Linked DNA regions of Homo sapiens: regions 2, 3 and 4 are each linked to region 1. The links are contacts of gene promoters, found by promoter capture Hi-C in blood cells and fetal thymus (Javierre and others, 2016). All regions are on one chromosome and are shown on one strand. The core of a region is centred on a gene start or on the middle of the fragment in contact, and the rest is flanking DNA. Distances in the headings are between cores, read along the strand shown. Region 1 holds the start of PSMA8 (proteasome 20S subunit alpha 8). Region 2 overlaps TAF4B (TATA-box binding protein associated factor 4b). Region 3 overlaps TAF4B (TATA-box binding protein associated factor 4b). Region 4 overlaps TAF4B (TATA-box binding protein associated factor 4b).

Region 1 (2,776 bases), core at 178-2,677:
AGAGAATAAAAATATCCGATCCTTTGAATTCATAGGCTAGGCCTTAGAAGATTTGGGGTAATAGATCTTGTGTCACTAGGGCACTTTTGTCCTCTTTAATTTTTATAAATCACTAAAATTATTGAACGTAGTTAAAACTTGGCAGCAGTATTACTCCTACCCTGAGTATTTTTTAAGTTTTTCAGTAATGTGGATACATAAATCTAAGGTAGGGTGTAATCTCTCAAGGAACTTCCAGCATTATTTTTTAAGTGGCCAAAAAAGTGGAAGTTCTTGGACTTTTGAGCCTCTACAAGGCTGGGAAATATTGGGACAATTTTGGGATTTTTTTTTTTTTTCCCGAGACGGAGTTTCGCTTTTGTTGCCCAGGCTGGAGTGCAATGGCACGATCTCGGCTCACCGCAACCTCTGCCTCCCAGGTTCAAGCGATTCTCCCGCCTCAGCCTCCCGAGTAGCTGGGATTACAGGCATGCGCCACCACGCCTGGCTAATTTTGTATTTTTAGTAGAGACGGAGTTTCTCCATGTTGGTCAGGCTGGTCTCAAACTCCCGACCTCAGGTGATCCGCCCTCCTGGGCCTTCCAAAGTGCTGGGATTACAGGTGTGAGCCACTGCGCCCAGCAATTTTGGGATATTTTTAACGCGTGTGTTTGAACTGTGTTTTTAATCATTTCTTCATCAACAAAAGTTTAATTTTATATTGATTTAGTCCGTATTTGGGGAGCAGGTGTGGCCAACTTTTATTTTTTATTGTAACTGTTATTAAAAAACAGTTCCCAACATGAAGCAACTGTTAACTTTTCCAGGGGTCTCTGAACTACCAAGGAACTGGACCACGAGCGTTCAATAGGTAGGCTGTTACAGATTAGAAGCTTTCCCTATTGTCAATCACATCATTAACGTCCCTACACACACACACACACACACAGAGACACACACACACACACACACACACCCACACACACACCCTAGTTTTGCGTCTGTAGCTACCATGAAACAGAGGCAGTTGAACAGCAGAGATAGGGGAAATCTACTAACTTTTACTCTGCCCACTTCCGGCCCAAATCTAGAAGTCTGTCTCCCTAAATAAAAAGAACAAAGTAATTTTCACAAGTGTGGGAATCTCCTCTCTTGAGCTCCTAGGATGGAAAGGTGGGCTGGGGCAGCAGGGTAACGATGGCCTGACAGGTCAGAGCGGGGAATAGTCCGGTAATAGTTGCTTCCTCACCGCGGTGGATCCTTTCTTCACCGCTTCCTGGGCATATTCAACTTGAAAAAGGTGTCCGTCTGGGGAGAAGACAGTGATCGCCCTGTCATATCGAGACGCCATCGCACAGGACTACAAGGGCTTGCCACCGAGCTTCCCGCTGCTGCAGCTGAGGCAAGCGGGGAGCCGCCGCCAACACAGCGTGCTACCGCCCGGAAGCGCTTCCACACGCGCCTCAAGCTGCCTCCCGGAAGTCCCCGCGCCCGCGCTTCGGCTGCTTCACGGAAGTCCTTGCTCCTTTGGCTGCCTGCGGATGTCCTCGCGCTTGCCAGCCTTTGTCACCCAAGCAGTGCCTGTGAGTTGACGGCATTCTTCCCTTACCCTTCATGTCTGACGCATAGCGCATATCTCCATTTCCCCACTACCGTGTTGCCCCAGGGATGGTGTCACGGCACTCGAGTTATAAAAATAATATCAAAGATTAGGGCTTAAAAATGAGGTCTTCAAATATCAGATATTTTTGTTATCGCATACATGTTGGAGAAACTGTGGTAAGTTAAATATCAGTCCCTTCCCTTTGGTTTCAAATTCTAAATTTCCTACTTTTTCTTTCTCTCTCTCAGGTTAACTCTTGTTATTTGAACCGAAGGAAAGAAAGCAAACTTCAAAATATTGTTGCTTCTGATATTTTCTGCCTTGTGAGCAAAATAGAGCAGATGAGCAAATGGTCCGTTAAATAAAGCAAATAGTCCATCAAACTAAGCTAATGATGAGAATTAAGATAATGTTCTTTTTTTTGTTTTGTTTTGTTTTTTGTTTTTTGAGACGGAGTCTCGCTCTGTCGCCCAGGCTGGAGTGCAGTGGTGCAATCTCGGCTCACTGCAAGCTCCACCTCCCGGGTTCACGCCATTCTCCTGCCTCAGCCTCCGGAGCAGCTGGGACTACAGGCGCCCGCCACCACGCCCGGCTAATTTTTTATATTTTTAGTAGAGACTGGGTTTCACCGTGTTAGCCAGGATGGTCTTGATCTCCTGACCTCGTGATCCGCCTGCCTCGGCCTCCCAAAGTGCTGGGATTACAGGCGTGAGCCACCGCGCCCGGCCCAGATAATATTCTTTTAATTGGAGAAATTTTGTAAAAGCCCAAAGTATGAGACTTAAAAGATGTCTGGAAATTTAGCTATAGCAGAAACTCTTTACAACTTGCTACATTACTAACTATGAAACAACTCTGTCGCTTTCTCCTTATCAATAAAATGGGAATATTAAAAAATCTGCAGCAGAGTATTCTGAGCTTAATATGTGTTTATGGGCATAATTACATAAAATGGTGCCTGGTGGGCAGTAATAGCCAGGTAAGTTTAGCTATTATTGCTTTCCATGTGTTGTTTAATATATGCAGTTTTCCACTGGGGAGGATCTTAAAGTTGGTGAAATCAACTTTAACCAAAAAAAAGAAAAAAAGAATAATTTCCTCAAAAGAGGAAAAATTTGATTCCCTGAATTCCAAATACTTAAATCAGAATTTTAATTGACTTAAACAATTTATTTAATTATTAATACTTTTTTT
Region 2 (2,776 bases), core at 119-2,618, 230 kb before region 1:
TGGCATGAGCCTGGGAGGTGGAGGTTGCAGTGAGCTGAGATCGCACCACTGCTCTCCAGCCTGGGTGATAAAGCAAGACCCCATCTCAAAACAAAAAACAAAACCAAAAACATTCTATCAGGTACAGTCAAAGAACTATGTACAGCACTGAGTTCGAGAAGACCACCACAAGTCTGTTGCTTTGGAAGCCCTATCTTGCTACATACTGAAGTGATTCATGGAAAGACAATAGTGTAGAAAATAATTAAGTCCACAAATCGCTACTACCACCTTCTCTGAAGATGACAAAGCCACGGACTCTGTCTCACTCTGCCGTCTGCTTTTTCCTCTTACCTGGTATAGACACACATGTCAACCACCAGAGTTCCTACGGTTCATGGACAGACCCCTCTCCAGTACCATCCCTCCTCTCCAAGACACTCCCATCTAGCTTTCCAGACTTTCTTTTTGGCTACAAGCCGGAAGCTTCTGCTGCCTGCTGAAAATCAGATTCATGTAATTCTGATTTTCAATCAAATATTCTAATGTATTGCTAACTGAAGTTTCAAAAAAGTCCTTTCTACTTTTATCCTCAAGAACAGAATTATAGGCCAGGTGCGGTGGCTCACGTCTGTAATCCCAGCACTTTGGGAGGCTGAGGAGGGCAGATCACCTGAGGTCAGGAGTTCAAGACCAGCCTGGCCAACATAGTGAAATCCCATCTGTACTAAAAATACAAAAATTAGCTGGGTGTGGTGGCATGCGCCTGTAGTTCCAGCTACCTGGGAGGCGGAGGCAGGAGAATCGCTTGAATCCAGGAGGTGGAGGTTGCAGTGAGCCGAGATTACGACACTGCACTCCCGCCTGGGTGCCAAAGCGAGACTCTATCTCAAAAAAAAAAAAAAAAAAAAAAGAATAGAATTATAGAGTAGCACTTTAACCTGCTTCTAGAAGGAGAGGACATATACTAATACATATTGCAATTTCTTTATTTTGGTTAGCAAATTCTATTTTAACTAAAATGATACTATAAGCACCATGTAGCTAATCTGGTGCTGTAAACCTGATTGTTACAGAAATATCAGCATTATGAAATCAACTGAATTACACGATCTTAGGAAGCTTCATTTATTTATGTTAGTAAAAAAGCATTCAAAGTAAAATAGTATGCTGAAATTCCTTAATACTTTCATAGCTCCAAAAATTGATTTTGTATAATTTTTTAGACATGTTATTATGTAAGGTTAAAATGTAACTTATCTTTGTGCTAAAAAAAAACGTTGCTGGATCATTAATAAGGCATGCAAAATATTTGAAAGTATAGCTAATGGGGGAAAAGAGAATCTTTCTAATCCAAGGATCTCTAATTAACACAGGAAGTAAAGTGATTAATGTTTTAAAATTCCAAAGAACCCCAAACACATCACCGATACAATACATATAAACAATACACACATACAAATACTCTAAATCTTAAAGTAGGTTTTATTTTACTGTATCAATATCTGTACGGCCTACATTAATTTAAAAACTAATTTCATATATATAACTTCAAACCACAGCAGCAAAAGGAAAGGACACATTTCAAAGTACTCCCAAATAGTACATTTTAACTATTTTTCCACCCTCCTGCGACCCACTAGCCAATAAGCTTATGGTATAAATATCTTATTCAAAATTGTAATTGGTACTTGCTGCTCTTTGTCAGGATAACATAAGGAGATAGCAGCTGATGCTATTCAATTTTACCAAGACTTCAGAGAATATCAAGTGTAAATTTCCAAAGGCTAGGTTAATATATAAATTATACAAATAGATCATATTTAATGAGAAAAGTTTTGCTTTATCATAACAAAAAATACTCAAGGACAAAGGTCTAAAACTAATTTCTCCAATTTCTTAGCAACAATAAAGGTAATCTTCGAATGTTAAAGTGCTATGTTTTTGAATGTTACATTTTTTTAAAAACTACCATCATTCTATTCAATCTTCCCAACTGAGAGTGCTCCCTTTTAGTAGGAAAAAACCTGCATTCAAACTAAAGAGTTACCCTCTGAAGAACTAGATTCTACTCCCACTTCTCTCTGGGATTATATGCTGATTCTAAAAAATTTAACTCAAACATGTTAAGATTTCAGGTTCCCATCGATAAAGAAGCAAACAAAAAGTAAAGGCTTTGTTTCCAGAGTACAGAATATTGAAAGTAAAAATGGTTTCATACATCATTTTTGTGTTATTTGTGAAGAAATAAAGCAAGTGAATAAAGGTTTCTAACAATTGTAACTAATGCAAATCAGCAGTATACCTAAACATTGAAGGAGCATGCAATAGGGCTCTCTCCTCTCTCTCCTTTTTTCTTTTATTTTTTTCTTAGGCAGGGTCTTACTGTGTCACCCAGGCTGGAGTGCAGTGGCCTGATCACAGCTCACTGCAGCCTTGACCTCCTGGGCCAAGCTATCCTCCCTCCTAAGCCCTCCAAGTTGCTGGAACTACAGGCGCACACCACCACGCGCTGCCTTTTTTTTTTTTTTTTTTTTTTTTTTTTGGTAGAGACAGGGTTTTGTGACCCACACTCCTCAGCCTCTCAAAATGCTGGGATTACAGGCTGGAGCCACTGCACCCAGCCTGTCTCTCATTTTGAAAACAAAAATGCCTTTAAAGTTAAAACACCATGAATAAAAATCAACAACAAGGAAACTAGTGTTCAGCAAATTTCAAAATAATAATTGTACTAAAAATGTCACCAGCTGATTAAAGAAATAGATATTTTCAATTCAAATTGACATTATAGTCATCC
Region 3 (2,776 bases), core at 165-2,664, 200 kb before region 1:
GATAAGCATCTAGTCAGTCCTTAATTAAAACAAGGTGGGATACCCATGATTCAGAGCAACAGTAGGTTGCCCATCCCTAAATAATCTATCCTCATGCCAGGTTTGCTTAAAGAGAATTATAGGTACAGTTCTCATACTAATAATTTTAGATACATTTTCCACTGGAAAGACATCAGTATAAGGAATATCTTGTTGCTGAAAATAAAATGTTTCTGCTCTCAACTTTTTTTTTAAAGTGTTCTCCCTTTCCATCGTTCCCTGTCCCAATCCTGAAATCCCTCCACCCAGAGTTCATGTATTTTCCTTCTCTATGTTAATGAAAACACACCACATTGATTGTAAGAATCTTACTAGATTTCCACTTGTTTTGCCTCAATTCCTACATTAATCCAAACAATAAGGGCCTTTAAAACGTTCATAAATAACCTGCTGCTGCTGGCACCTAGGAGCCAACTGCAGCAATGTTAAGCAACAACAAATTTCATAGTTCAAGAGGCACAGTTAAGGGAAAAGGTTGCTCAGAAAATCACTCTTATTTAGCACAAAGATCCTTAAAAATTGCATGAAATCAGTGAAGTAACTATAGAAACCAATTTCTTCAGCTCCATATCACACGTCTCACACCTCAATTGTCTTTATTATCATCTGCTGTCAGATCCTTAATCAGAAATGTGAACAGGCTTGATGATTTATTCAGGAGGGAAAAGAATCTGTAGGTCAAGTGAAAAATTTCACACACACACCCATACACACACTGCACCTTCAACCTTAGGTACTTTCATTTCATTCTGTTCTCAGCAGCTCTGGGGGCAACTCCAGTGAGATCCAATATTAAGGCTCAATTAAAATAAGCTCCAATTAGTGGAGCTTTTTTCTCTGGGGCTAGAAAAGTCAGGAAATGGATATTGGGAAATGTAAAAAGTCAGCTACTGAGAGGAGGCTGCAGACATAAATGAACTTATTTGTTGATTTCTACAGTTGCTATGCAGAGGCCTCTGGGAGTAAAAGCTTAACCAGTCTAAGCTATAAACTAAAACCCCTGCAGCTAAACATGAACTGTGTGAAACAAGGGCTCCATTCCAGAACAGAAAACTGCTGGGCCCAGAAAATTAAAAGCCAGAGGCATTTTCCATTTAAAACTAAATCCCAGCACCGCCTCCCAGCCAAAGAATTATAAGCAGTATCAGATTTACAAAACGAACAATTACCCTGGAAAAATGTAGCCTATTGTACAGTCCCAGATGCTAAATCTCAAAAGTTTCTTTTTTTTTAAAATCTCACATTATATTCCTCCAAGTATGCTGCTGTAGTTTACAAAGACCCATTTCGAGACAGGCCTAAGCCTTGAAAATAAATTTTAAAAAGAGAGCACATAACTCATTGACCTCATTTGAAGTACTGCCCTTGCCTTTAGCAGTTCCTGTCCTTCCCCAAGGCTTCTGCAAATGGTATGCAACAGCAAAATAAACCCTGACCTAATTGCCAGGAGAGAGCTGCCAACCTTCCCTCAAACACAAAGACAAGCATGGTAACTTGAAAGTCCTACCTCTTTGGCTTTCTGCTTTAATCTCAGCTGTTCTGGATCTTCTTTATTAGAACGACTCTATCAAAGGAAAAGAAAATTTTAATAGAAATTACTAGCATCTGAACACCATAGTTGCCATTAAATATTTAATAAATGACAATTTTCTCTTGTGATTGAATATCTTAGCTCCAGGGGAAAATACCTCAATCCAGTCTAGCTGCACTCCCACCCTGGTTTCCCCTGCCCCCTCATCATCTGGGCTGGCTGCTGCAGTTCTAGCCTGGAGGAAGCTTATACTGAAAATGATGCTAACGATGTCAGTCAGGTCCAGTTGAGGCATGACGTTGTTCTTGTAGGAACACTGAAAACTAAAAAATTGGTGGTACAGATGAAGGAAAAGAAAAAAAGAGTAATTGTTGGTTTAAATGAATAAAAACAATCAATACTGGCTGATCTTCAGGTGAAGCCATTTGGGAAAACATAGGTATTTCGAGGACTATTAAAATCAAGAACCTGACTAACCTTGAACCAAATCTCTCTTTAAAGGTATAATTTCTAAAATTATAAGTAGAAAATACATCTCAGTATTTTAATTAGAATGTCTTATCATCTTTGGGTCCTCTATAGCACTTAATAGAATGCTGTGCACCATGTTCAATAATTGTTTATTGGATGTCGCCTTCCATAATACAGAACTGGCATAAGAAGAGAGCTGTTTTCTATGTATCAAGCTATGATGGAACAAAGGGTAGGGAACTTTATTTCTGACACCATGAATATCTGTCCACTGGAAAACATGTTTGGGATACGTATATCCTTTTTTCTCACCATGACAAAGTTATTTAATTGCTTATAAATCTGAGTATTTGTTCCATAAAATGAAACCTTCGTTAACTAAGGTAATATCTAGATAGCTAACTAAATAAAAGCTAAAAGTATTTTCATATTTAATAAGTTTACCTGATACATTTATTGATTTACCAGAACCTTTGGTTAAAGGAAAATATAAGAGATAGTCTTTAAATTTGAGTGCCTACTAATTTCAAACATCTTAAATATCTACACAAAATTCAACCCAAAGCTGGTAAAATTTTTCTTCATTTTAGTCCCCAATCTACTAACAAAATTTCATTTCAAGCGAAAAGATAAACTCTTTTGTTACTCTAGTTATAGTATCACCAGAGAATGAGTCTGTGTATATATGTATTTATATTAAAATATGCATTATATATATATACATATATATGTGGG
Region 4 (2,776 bases), core at 90-2,589, 140 kb before region 1:
AGCCTTGTTCACGCCACTGCACTCCAGCCTGGGTGACAGAGTTAAGACCCTATCTCAAAAAAAAATTTTTTCAATAAAAAAAGTTAAGCATTTTTCAGTTTTAATGTTAACCCCACAAAAAACAAAATGCCTTGGGGAGTCCTCAAGTTTTAGGAATTTAAAGGTATCCTAAAACCAAAATGTTTTAGAACTGCTGTTTGTCGTTCTAAAGTAAACAGATCTTAAAACTAGAGGTAATATTTAATTCCTAACTGTTTCTATCTGTCCATAAAATTCACACATATGTTTTGTGGTTAAAAAGTCTTTAATATTTTATGGGATACGTATTCATTTCCAACAGGTCTCTTCATCTAGAGTATTCCATTTCAGAGAAACAAGTCATCATATCCCCTTTCAAAACTAGCATACCTTGAAAAGGGAAGATCAAAAGCTCAATGTTTACTTTTAAAAAGACACCCGTAAGTTGAATTAAAAATTTGTTAGTATGAGGTATTTTAGACATCTGTAATAAAAACATCTTCCCAAATGAAAAACTAACCATTTCAAGTGTGCTCTAACATCTTACAGGCAGCATTAAAAACAGTAGTAAAGAAGGTATTTTAATATTTATAAACTATGCTTGTTTTTGCTGTATAATATTTGAAATATACACATTTTATACTTGGAAAAAGGGATAATTTTTATGTGAAAAATATAATTCTAATTACGTGGTGAGAGAAATCTGTATATTATAGTAGTTCAAAAAATCCAAATCCATTTGTTTGTTATATCCTCAGCATGTCTTAAGCATATAATATGAAATATTTGCTAACTTCTATCTCCACTCTTTTTAGTGCACCTACATATTTTACCTGAAAGAGGATGTAAGAAACCAAAGGCATATAATTTGGTAGCTAAAAGACACAGCATCTTGGCACTCATATAAACATCAACGATCATCATGTTTAACATTCTCATCTGCAAGATGAGAATCTTATAGATAAGGAAAGTGAGGCCTAAGAGCATTAACTAACTTCTGTGGTCCCAAAGCTTGGTGTCTATCTGGACATATAAGAACCGAATTTCATTATCTATTGATAGCCTGGCTTTCTGAGATTTCATAATTCTTTTTTCTTTTCTTTTCTTTTTTTTTTTTTTTTTGAGACAGAGTCTTGCTCTGTTGCCCGGGCTAGAGTACAGTGGTGCAATCTCAGCTTACTGTAACCTCTGCCTCCCAGGTTCAAGCCATTCTCCTGCCTCAGCCTTCCAAGTAGCTGGGATTACAGGCGTGCGCCACCACACCTGGCTAATTTTTATATTTTTAGTAGAGAAGAGATTTCACCATGTTGGCCAGGCTGGTCTCAAACTCTTGACCTCAGGTGATCCACCTGCCTCGGCCTCCCAAAGTGCTGGGATTACAGGCATGAGCCACTGTGCCCAGCAGAGATTTCATAATTCTAATAACAATTTCCTATTGACTAAATAATGAACCTTTTCTCCAAGGCCCTTTGTAGAGTAAGGGAGGCAAGACTGATGTACAGAAATAATATATATATCAAAACATCATGTTGTATACCTTAAACATATACAATTTTTTTAAAAAGGTAAATTTTCAAAAGAAATATACAATAGGTTTTTCTAGCCAAGATTTATAGTCTTTACAAAGCTTTCAAGAAGCAAAAAACAAAATTTATCAAGAACTACATTTAAAATAAATCTCAGGCCGGGCTTGGTGGTTCACGCCTGTAATCCCAACGCTTTGGGAGGTCAGGGCAAGTGCATCACTTGAGGCCAGGAGTTTGAGACCAGCCCAGCCAACATGGCAAAACCCCGTCTCTACTAAAAATACAAAAATTAGCCGAGCGTGGTGATGCACACCTGTAATCCCAGCTACTCAGGAAGCTGAGGCAGGAGAATCATTTGAACCCAGGAGGCAGAGGTTGCAGTCAGCCTAGATCACGCCACTGCACTCCAGCTTGGGCAACAGAGCGAGACTCTGTCTCAAAACATAAATTAAATAAATAAATAAATTAAATAAATCCCATTTAAAAATATGCATTTCCCAATTACAACATGTTATATGGATTCCTCCAGAATTTGCAGGATTTTATAGCACTACTTACCAAAAGTTGTTCCACCAGCTTCTTCACATTTTGCCCCATTTCTGGGGACTGTGATCCACTACATGCTAGTTTTATTAACATTGCAAGGAAGTTCTTGCATTTCTTCACATTTTCTAGCATTGTCTAAATATGAAAATGTAAATATAAGCAAACACAAGTGTTAGTGAGCAAACAATTCAAAAGAACTTGCAAGGAACAAGATTTATGTAAGGTGCAAGTAAGAGCTTACCGGAGAAAGATTAATCTGAACAGCTGCTGAGTTCTCTGCTTTAAGATTGGGCTCATTTGAAGGAGTGGATGATGCTCCCAAACTTGAAGGCTTCAGGGTAGTTACAGTATTCAATGGCTTTCCAGGAGTAACTGTGACGACACTGGTTGGCACAGCCACAGACTGAAATTAAAGGTATTAAATATTTAGGCATGTATTACTATGATACATTAGTGGGTGCCTCATTTCACACTCATCAGACAAGTTAATTTTGACATCTGTGGTTTTATGTTATGCTCTAGTAGTCTAAGGCAATATAATACAGTTCTAGGAACTCTTGAGTCTAGCAGATCTGGGTTTCATTCTCACCCCATCTACTATTTCATTACCACCTACCAAGTGTTGACTGCAGGCAAGTTACTTAATCTTGCTAATCCTGATTACTCTCTGCAAAAATAGGGATTGC

Evidence for each region. Contacts are between HindIII fragments. The CHiCAGO score rates a contact against its expected background, and 5 or more counts as called.
Region 2: a contact is called between a fragment that was not itself captured here and the fragment with the promoter of PSMA8 in region 1, in 1 of 17 cell types (activated CD4 T cells). The highest score is 5.1, in activated CD4 T cells.
Region 3: a fragment that was not itself captured here is called in contact with the fragment with the promoter of PSMA8 in region 1 in 2 of 17 cell types (activated CD4 T cells and naive CD4 T cells); the score reaches 5.8 in activated CD4 T cells.
Region 4: a fragment that was not itself captured here is called in contact with the fragment with the promoter of PSMA8 in region 1 in 1 of 17 cell types (activated CD4 T cells); the score reaches 5.2 in activated CD4 T cells.

Annotation. Positions count from the first base shown.
Region 1 is chr18:26,132,520-26,135,295 of GRCh38, reverse strand. PSMA8 (proteasome 20S subunit alpha 8) reads right to left here and starts at 1,427. Exons shown (of 7, transcript NM_001025096.2): 1 at 1,229-1,427. The coding sequence starts at 1,330. The HindIII fragment of the contact is 6,300 bases long and covers 875-2,776 here.
Region 2 is chr18:26,363,119-26,365,894 of GRCh38, reverse strand. The region is part of intron 14 of TAF4B (TATA-box binding protein associated factor 4b); the gene reads right to left. Among named protein-coding and RNA genes, the nearest start is that of LINC01543, 58 kb to the left of the region's middle. The HindIII fragment of the contact is 529 bases long and covers 1,104-1,632 here.
Region 3 is chr18:26,334,002-26,336,777 of GRCh38, reverse strand. It overlaps TAF4B (TATA-box binding protein associated factor 4b), which reads right to left. Exons shown (of 15, transcript NM_005640.3): 13 at 1,547-1,603. Among named protein-coding and RNA genes, the nearest start is that of LINC01543, 88 kb to the left of the region's middle. The HindIII fragment of the contact is 807 bases long and covers 1,011-1,817 here.
Region 4 is chr18:26,274,380-26,277,155 of GRCh38, reverse strand. It overlaps TAF4B (TATA-box binding protein associated factor 4b), which reads right to left. Exons shown (of 15, transcript NM_005640.3): 4 at 2,332-2,493; 5 at 2,103-2,225. Among named protein-coding and RNA genes, the nearest start is that of TAF4B, 49 kb to the right of the region's middle. The HindIII fragment of the contact is 616 bases long and covers 1,032-1,647 here.